Linked DNA regions of Homo sapiens: region 2 is linked to region 1. Evidence: promoter capture Hi-C in human tissues and cell types (Jung and others, 2019). All regions are on one chromosome and are shown on one strand. Each heading gives the region's core, a stretch centred on a gene start or on the middle of the fragment in contact. The rest is flanking DNA. Distances are from core to core; before and after follow the strand shown. Region 1 holds the start of CBFA2T2 (CBFA2/RUNX1 partner transcriptional co-repressor 2). Region 2 overlaps ZNF341 (zinc finger protein 341).

Evidence for each region. The method cuts DNA at HindIII sites, captures the fragments that hold promoters and counts their contacts. A contact is called where the count stands out against the background at its distance.
Region 2: a contact is called between a fragment that was not itself captured here and the fragment with the promoter of CBFA2T2 in region 1, in 2 of the 25 tissues and cell types used here (H1 embryonic stem cells and pancreas).

What each region holds. Positions count from the first base shown.
Region 1 is chr20:33,487,750-33,491,847 of GRCh38, forward strand. It overlaps CBFA2T2 (CBFA2/RUNX1 partner transcriptional co-repressor 2), which reads left to right and starts at 2,347. Exons shown (of 11, transcript NM_001032999.3): 1 at 2,347-2,552. The coding sequence starts at 2,519. RefSeq lists an enhancer at 1,514-2,062 and silencers at 2,157-2,376, 2,387-2,666. The HindIII fragment of the contact is 17,917 bases long and covers 1-4,098 here.
Region 2 is chr20:33,790,721-33,794,861 of GRCh38, forward strand. ZNF341 (zinc finger protein 341) reads left to right here. Exons shown (of 15, transcript NM_001282933.2): 15 at 268-1,549. The coding sequence ends at 797. All of the region lies in intron 3 of ZNF341-AS1 (ZNF341 antisense RNA 1), which reads right to left. Among named protein-coding and RNA genes, the nearest start is that of ZNF341-AS1, 18 kb to the right of the region's middle. RefSeq lists an enhancer at 1,423-1,717. The HindIII fragment of the contact is 6,106 bases long and covers 1-4,141 here.

The DNA.
Region 1 (4,098 bases), core at 1,097-3,596:
ACAGGCATGAGCCACCATGCCTGGCCACATATGTTCTTTTCTTCTCTCTCTTTTTTTTTTTTTTGTTTTGTTTTGAGACAGAGTCTTGCTTTGTGGCCCAGGCTGGAGTGCAGTGGCATGATCTTGGCTCACTGCAACTGCCACCTCCCAAGTTCAAGCCATCCTCCTGCCTCAGCCTCCTGAGTAGCTGAGACTACAGGCACACGCCACCACTCCTGGCTAACTTTTGTATTTTTAGTAGAGACAGGTTTTCACCATGTTGGCCAGGCTGGTCTCGAACTCCTGACCTTTTGTGATCTGCCCACTTCAGCCTCCCAAAGTGCTAGGATTACAGGTGTGAACCACTATACCCAGCTGGTATATGCACATATGTTCTTATTTCTACATTTTTTTTTCTTTTTTTGAGACAGGGTCTCACTCTGTTACTCACGCCTGATCTGTTAGATCAGGCCAGAGTACATTGGTCTGATCTGGGGTAACTGAAACCTCTGACTCCCTGGCTCATATGATCCTCCCACCGCAGCCTTCTGTGTAGCTGAGACTACAAGCGTGTGTGCAACACCATGTCTGGCTAATTTTTGTATTTTTTGTACAGGCGCGGTTTCCCCGTGTTACCCAGGCTAGTCTTGAACTCCTGGACTCAAGCGATCCACCTGCCTTGGCCTCCCAAAGTGCCGGGATTAGAGGCATAAACCACTGTACCCGGCCGGCCTACATTCTGTCTTTTAAAATTTGTTTTCAATACACAAGTAAAATACAAATGCATTCTATATTCTTGGTGTGAGATATCTGAAATAATACTGAGAAACAAGAGTCTTTATTCTTTTCTTTTCTTTTCAGACGGAGCTTCCCTCTGTTGCCCAGGCTAGAGTGTAGTGGCGCGATTTCGGTTCACTGCAACCTCTGCCTCCCAGGTTCAAGCGACTCTCCTGCCTCAGCCTCCCGAGTAGCTGGGATTATGGACACCCGCCACCGCGCCCAGCTAATTTTTTTGTTTTGTTTTGTTTTGTTTTTTGAGAGGGAGTCTCGCTCTGTCACCCAGGTGGGAGTGCAGTGTCGTGATCTTGGCTCGGTGCAACCTCCGCCTCCGGGGTTCAAGCAATTCTCCTGTCTCAGCCTCCTGATTAGCTGGGATTACAGGCTTGTGAAACCAAGTCCAGCTAATTTTTGTATTTTTAGTACAGACGGGGTTTCACCACGTTGGTCAGGCTGGTCTCCAAATCCTGAGCTGTGATCTGCCAGCTTCGGCGTCCCAAAGTGCTGGGATTACAGGGGTGAGCCACAGCTCCTGGCCTTGTTTTGTTTTTTTGATACGGAGTTTTGCTCTTTTTGCTCAGGCTGGAGTGCAATGGCTCCGATCTCGGCTCACTGCAACCTCCCCCTCCCGGATTCAAGTGATTCTCCTGCCCCAGCCTCCCGAGTAGCTGGGACTAAAGGCACGCGCCACCGCACCAGGCTAATTTTTGTATTTTTATTTATTTATTTTTTTAGTAGAGATAGGGTTTCACCTTATAGGCCAGACTGGTCTTCAAACTCCTGACCTCGTGATCCTCCCGCCTCGGCCTCCCAAAGTGCTAGGATTACAGGCTTGAGCCACTGCGCCCGGCTCTAAGTTTTGTATTTTTAGTAGAGACAGCGTTTCGCCACATTGGCCAGACTAGCCTCGAAGTTCTGACCTCAGGTAATCCACCCTCCTCGGCCTCCCAAAGTGTTAGGATTATAGGCCTGAGCCACCGTGCCTGGTCTATTTTTTATTTTTATTTATTTATTTTTTTAATAGAGACGCTAGTCTCAAACTCCTGAGCTCAAGTGACTCTCCTTTGGCCTCCCAAAGTACTAGGATTACAGGCGTGGGCCACCACGCCCGGCCAACAGTTATTAAAATTACGATGATGAAATTTTAGGCATTTAGAATACTTCAGGCCAAAAACACTTTGAGCCAGGGGGCTCGCTCAAAGGCATGCGCAAAAGCCATCAGGCCTGTACCTGGAGAACTCAGGTGAGACGTTGCCACTCGTTGTAATCCCTCCCCCTAGCACTCGGCCCCCGAGCCTGGGCCACTGCCCTGGCTACACCGGGAAGTCTGGAGCTAGAAAGTGGGCCGTGCGCGTGACGGGCGCGCGTGACGCCGAGGGGGCAGGTCTGAGAAGCAGGCTGCGCCGGGATTCGGCGGTCGGTTCCCGCGGAAGGGGCGGGTCAGGTTAGGGGGCGGTGCTTAATGGGAGCTGGTCTTGGGGCCGGGCTTCCGCGTGCGTTGGCCTGGCGGCGAGAGCGCGCGGCGGGGGCGTGCCCGGCGGGCGGGGCGGGGCCAGCCGGGGGCGGGGCGGGGCGCGGCCTAACGGCGGCGGCGGCGGCGGCGACGGCGACAGCAGCGGTGGTGGTGTCTGGTTAGCTCGGCGGCTGCAGATCTCGCGGCGACGCCTGCGAGGGACCCGGGCCGCGGGTCGAGGCGGGCGGCGCCTGCGAGGGACCCGTGTCGCGGGTAGAGGCGGGCGGCGCGCGGCGGCGGCGCTCGGCGATGGTAGGCGTCCCTGGAGCGGCCGCCTTCCAGCGTAAGTGGGGCGTGAATGCGGGCGGCCGAGGGGGGCGTGTGAGGGCCTGCGGCTCCGCAGGCGCGGTGATTCCGAGTGCCCCGGGCGCGAGGCCGGGAGTGGAAACTGAGGCCCGAAGCGGGGCGGCGGATCCAAGGTCACGCAGCGGGGCGGGCCTTCCCGGGCTCCTGAGGCCACCCCGTCGCTTCCTGCGCCGCCCGAAGAGCTCGGGGCTCACGGTGTGAGGGAAATTGTGGGGCCCGCGGCCTCGGAACTTAGGCCGGGCCGGCGTCCATGGGACTTGCCGGCGGGCAAGAATCATTTTGTTGTCCCAGCGCTGGGGCCACGAAGTCCGGCTCCTGGGGAAATACTACACCCGCCCGATGTTGAGGGTTGGAGGAGATGAGAATGGCCCCTCGGAGGGCCTGTTTGAGCGCAGGCTCAGTAGTTGGCTACCTGGGTTCACATCCAGGCTTCCCCATTTAGGTAGTGACCTTGGCTCTCCCGGTGCCTCAGTTCCCCCATCTGCAAAATGGGGATGTGGAGCGGGTTCCCTCCCTCCCCCAGGGTTCTTGGGTTTTGTGAGGCCAGTAAAACGCTTGACACCGACCGTGGCACACACACAATTGTGAAAACTGTCATTATTGTAATCGTCCTTTATTAATCTGATCCAGTGTGCACCGCACTCGGAAAAGTCCGAAATTAGGCTCTAGCCGTGTTAAGATTTTGTTTTGTTGTCTGTTAGTCCTGCTCCATGATCTAATTGTTATTCTTACTTCCATTTAGCCATTCCAGTATTTATCTAGTGTTCCTCCTTGATGTGTGAGATCCTTGGGGGAGGGGTGGCTTCTCTGAATAAGAACAATAAAATTTTAATTGTTTTTCATTATTGTAATTATAATAGCCAACATTTTTTTGAGCACCAGACATTTTGCATTCTATTCACTTAATATTTATTAAATCATATAGTAAGTTTAAAAATACCATTCCAGGCCCTGGGAATACAATAAACAAGATAGACCGAACTGGGGTTTTGAGTTTAGTTAGGAGAGGGAGAGACATAGTAAATGAGGAAACAGATAAACATGTTTTGCATGTTTTTTTAATTGTTTAATCTTGATGACATCCTAAGTAAGACATTATTTGAGGATGCCCATTTTGCAGAGGATGAAACTGAGTAACAGAAGGTACTCTGAGTACTAGTCTCAGAGCTGATGTCCTTAAACACGTGAAAGGGAGGCTTTACGCTTCTTTTTTTTTGCACCCATTAAATGTTGGATTGAAGATAGAAAAAGTAGATACACCCAGCTTGCAGTTACTGCTTTTGATGGTTTGATCCATTCCTCATGAAATTTCCAACTAAAGAGGCGGATAGTGATTACTCTTTTAGGCTTGCAAAGGTACAGCATCTCTGTAAAATGAAAGGCTTTTTTTTTTTTGAGACGGAATCTTGCTCTGTCGCCCAGACTGGAGTGCAGGGGTGTGATCTTGGCTCACTGCAACCTCCGTCTCCTGGGTTCAAGCTATTCTCCTGTCTCAGCCTCCGGAGTAGCTGGGACTACAGGCA
Region 2 (4,141 bases), core at 784-3,283, 300 kb after region 1:
GGTGCAGAGAGTGAGCAGCTGTTCCAGGCAGAGGAGAATGGCAAGTACAAAGGCGCAGAGGGAGGAGCCAGCGTGGCATCTCTGAGGAGAGCGAGTGTGGCTGGCGCAGAGAGTGGCTGGAAGAAGGCAGACGACGAGGGTGGAGAGAGCTGGGGCCAGATCACACAGGTGCTGGTGGGGAAAGAGCCTGGATTTTATTCCCAGCGCAGGGCACTGTTGCGGGGTGAAGGTCTGGATGCTTCTCACTGACTTTCCCTTGCCCTCCAGGCATGAAGCTCCACAAATGCGCCCTGTGCAGCAAGTCCTTCAGCCGCCGTGCCCACCTCGCCGAGCATCAGCGCGCCCACACGGGCAACTACAAGTTCCGCTGTGCTGGCTGCGCCAAGGGCTTTTCCCGCCACAAATACCTCAAAGATCACCGCTGTCGTCTCGGCCCCCAAAAGGACAAGGACCTGCAAACCCGGCGGCCCCCCCAGAGGAGGGCAGCCCCCCGCAGTTGCGGCAGTGGTGGGCGCAAGGTGCTGACCCCCTTGCCTGACCCGCTGGGGCTGGAGGAGCTGAAGGACACAGGGGCTGGGCTGGTGCCCGAGGCTGTCCCCGGCAAGCCGCCCTTCGCAGAGCCGGACGCGGTGCTGTCCATCGTTGTGGGTGGTGCGGTGGGCGCGGAAACTGAGCTGGTGGTACCTGGACACGCTGAGGGGCTGGGCTCCAACCTGGCTCTGGCGGAGCTGCAGGCTGGGGCCGAGGGCCCATGTGCCATGCTCGCTGTGCCCGTCTACATCCAGGCCTCCGAGTGACGGACCTGAGGTGTCTGTTTCCTGGGCAGGCCTGATGCTCCTGTTTGGGTCCAGGGCCCCTGGGGGCAGACCGGTGATCCTTACCAGTGGAAGCGAGCCATCGAGCCATTGGCAGAAATCCTGCTGAATGTCATTCAGAAACCTCAGCCCATGGTCGCCCTCCTGTGCCCCTCTCCTGCCGGAAAGCCCTGCAACATTCTAGGGTTGGGGGCAGGGCCATCCACGGTTTCTGGGCAGAGCCATGGTGGCAGGAGAGAGATGGCTGAAGCCTGAGCAGCCCAGAGTCCCGCTGGTCTAGGCTGGTGGTCGGGGCCCCTGGGAGAGGAGACAGGGCATTCCTCCCCACTCTGTCTCCAGGCTGCCTCTGGGTAGCCTCTAGTCTGCTGTTCTTCAGGAGGCCTGCCATAAACTCTTCGGAGTTTACGTGTTGCACCTTTTCACAGACGGTTCCCCACAGCATCCTCAGACAGCTCTGTGATGTAGCTTTTAGGAGGCACTCAGGTGTCACGGCTAGACTGCAGCTATGAGACAGATCTGGCTTCAAATCCAAGAGTTGCCATGCACTTGCTGTGTGACCTTGGGCAAGTCACTTCACTTCTCTGAGCCCCGTGTTCCTCATCTGTACAATGGGGCTTACGATACTACTACCTCATAGGGTTGTCCTGGGGATCCAGTATGATGAAGTGCGCCAGGGGCTTGGCATGGTGCCCGGCACGCAGAAAGTGCTCAATAAATGTTTTTGTCATAACGTGTCCGGGTGGCCTGGGCCAAGCTGTGGCAGTTTCCTTCTTTGCCCCTAGGTGGCAGCACTCCCCCTCTGAAGCTTGTGGTGGCTGAGGGGTCCCAGGCCCCTCACACAGGGAGCCCTGGAGAGATGATAAGGGAAGCAAGGCTGGGCACGGCAGCTCATGCCTGTAATCCCAGCACTTTGGGAGGCCAAGGTGGGCTGATCACCTGAGATCAGGAGTTTGAGACCAGTCTGGCCAACATGGCAAAACCTCGTCTCTAGTAAAAATACAAAAATTAACCGGGTGTGGTGGTGCACACCTGTATTCCCAGCTACTTGGGAGGCTGAGGCGGGAGAATCACTTGAACCCAGGAGACAGAGGTTGCAGTGAGCTGAGATCGTGCCACTGCACTCCAGTGTGGGAGACAGAGTGAGACCCTGTCTCAAAAAAAAAAAAAAAAAATTAGCTGGGCATGGTGGTGGGTGCCTGCAGTCCCAGATATGCTGGAGGCTAATGTGGGAGGATCACTTGAGCCCAGGAGGTTGAGGCTGCAGTGAGCTGAGATTGTGCCACTGCATTCCAGCCTGGGCAACTGAGCAAGACCCTGTCTCAAAGATTTAAAAAAAAAGAAAAGAAACGAAAAAAAAGAAAGGAAATTGGGAACACCCATCCACAGAAAACAGTCCAGGACAACACCCCATGGGGGTCGGGGTTTGTACTCACTTGTGGGAATTCAGGATAGTTAGCCACCTCCAAATCCGTTGTAAACAAGATCAGAAATCCCTCTCGTGTCGGCATCTGGAGGCCATCAATGTCACCGCGTCCAGTGCTTCCTCCTACCTCTCAGCTGGTCCCGGTGGGAGGTGGACCGGGCTCATGAGGAGGCGGGAAGGAGAAAAGGGCCTTGACTAGTGTTTTCCTGTTTATCTTCACAGCCACCCTTCTGGGCTGTTGGACTCCATTTGATGACTGAATTGTTTTGAAGGCTGGCAGGTCCCTCAGGCATCTGTGTTGGATCTCAGGGCTGGAACTCAGAGCCAGGCCCAGCTTCCCACATCCTCAGGAAGGGTGTGACGCGGCAGGAGGGACAGAGTTGATGGGGGTGAGGTGTGTAAGTGTACCGGCCTGCACAAAGGCCCGAGGGGGACTGGTGGGGACAGGAAGTCAGAGGGGATGCCCCTGGAGCTGGGCCTTGGCCCGGGGTGCTTTGATGGGTGGATGGATAGGGGAAGGTGTGCTGGGTGAGAGCAGGGCGCGTGCAAACACCTTGGGGTGGGACAGTGCCAGGCCTGCTATGTTCTGGGGCCGGCGGATGTTCCAGGGTGACCAGAGGTCTCAGAGGAGTAGGTGGATAATGATCATGGCTGTTGCTTCACCTTCTCCACACGAGGGACACTGTGCCAGGCTATTTACAGTCACGTCGCCTCAGCCTGTCATGTGAGTGCTGTTACTTTCTGTATTTTACAGCTGAGAAAACCCAGGCCCAGAGGGGTAAACTTCCTTACCCAAGCTCACACAGCCAGGAAAGCTGCAGAGCTGGGACTCAAGCCACGGCAGCCTGCCTCCATGGGTTCTTAGCCACTTTCCACGATTGAAGTGTGGGTTGATGAATCAGAGAGGGCCTTAGATGTGGGTTAAGGAATCTGGACTTTATTCTCCACATAATGAAGGGGAGTCATGGGAGACAGTGAACATTTTTAAAAGTTGTAACAATGGCATTGAAAGAAATGTGAAGAACGACATCTTCAGCCGGGTGTGGTGGCTCACTCCTATAATCCCAGCACTTTGGGAGGCCGAGGCGGGTGGATCACCCGATGTCAGGAGTTTGAGACTATCCTGGCCAACATGGTGAAACCCCATCTCTACTAATAATACAAAAAAATTAGCTGGGCGTGGTGGCACATGCCAGTAATCTCAGCTACTTGGGAGGCTGAGGCAGGAGAATCGCTTGAACCCGGGAGGCAGAGTTTGCAGTGAGCTGAGATCCCGTGACATTGCACTCCAATCTGGGTGACAAGAGTGAAACTCCATCTCAAAAAAAGAAAAAAAAATGACATCTTCTTCCTAATATAACTATTTAAGTGGTTTTTCTATAGCTTCTTCCTGTCAGTGCACACAGGCATACACGTCTACTGGTAATCACGAGAACTAACATTTATTAGTTATCGAATGAATGCCTGGCACCATCCCCAGCACCTCAATGTAGGCACTACTTTTAAGCCCATTTTGCAGCTGAGATGAGGCAACAGGCACATTAAGGTTAAGCAGCCCAAAGTCACACAGGAGGGAAGTAGCAGAGCCAAGCCACAGATAAGGACATACCAAGATCAGCTATAATGTTTAACAGAAAGTTGGTGACAAATCCCAGCACTTTGAGAGGCCGAGGCAGGCAGATCACGAGGACAGGATATCAAGACCATCCTGGCTAACATGGTGAAACCCTGTCTCTACTAAAAATACAAAAAATTAGCCAGATGTGGTGGCCCTGGAGCTGGTCCCAGCTACTTGGGAGGCTGAGGCAGGAGAATCGCTTGAACCTGGGAGGCGGAGGTTGCAGTGAGCCGAGATCATGCCACTGCTCTCCAGCTTGGGGGAGAGCAAGACTCTGTCTCATTA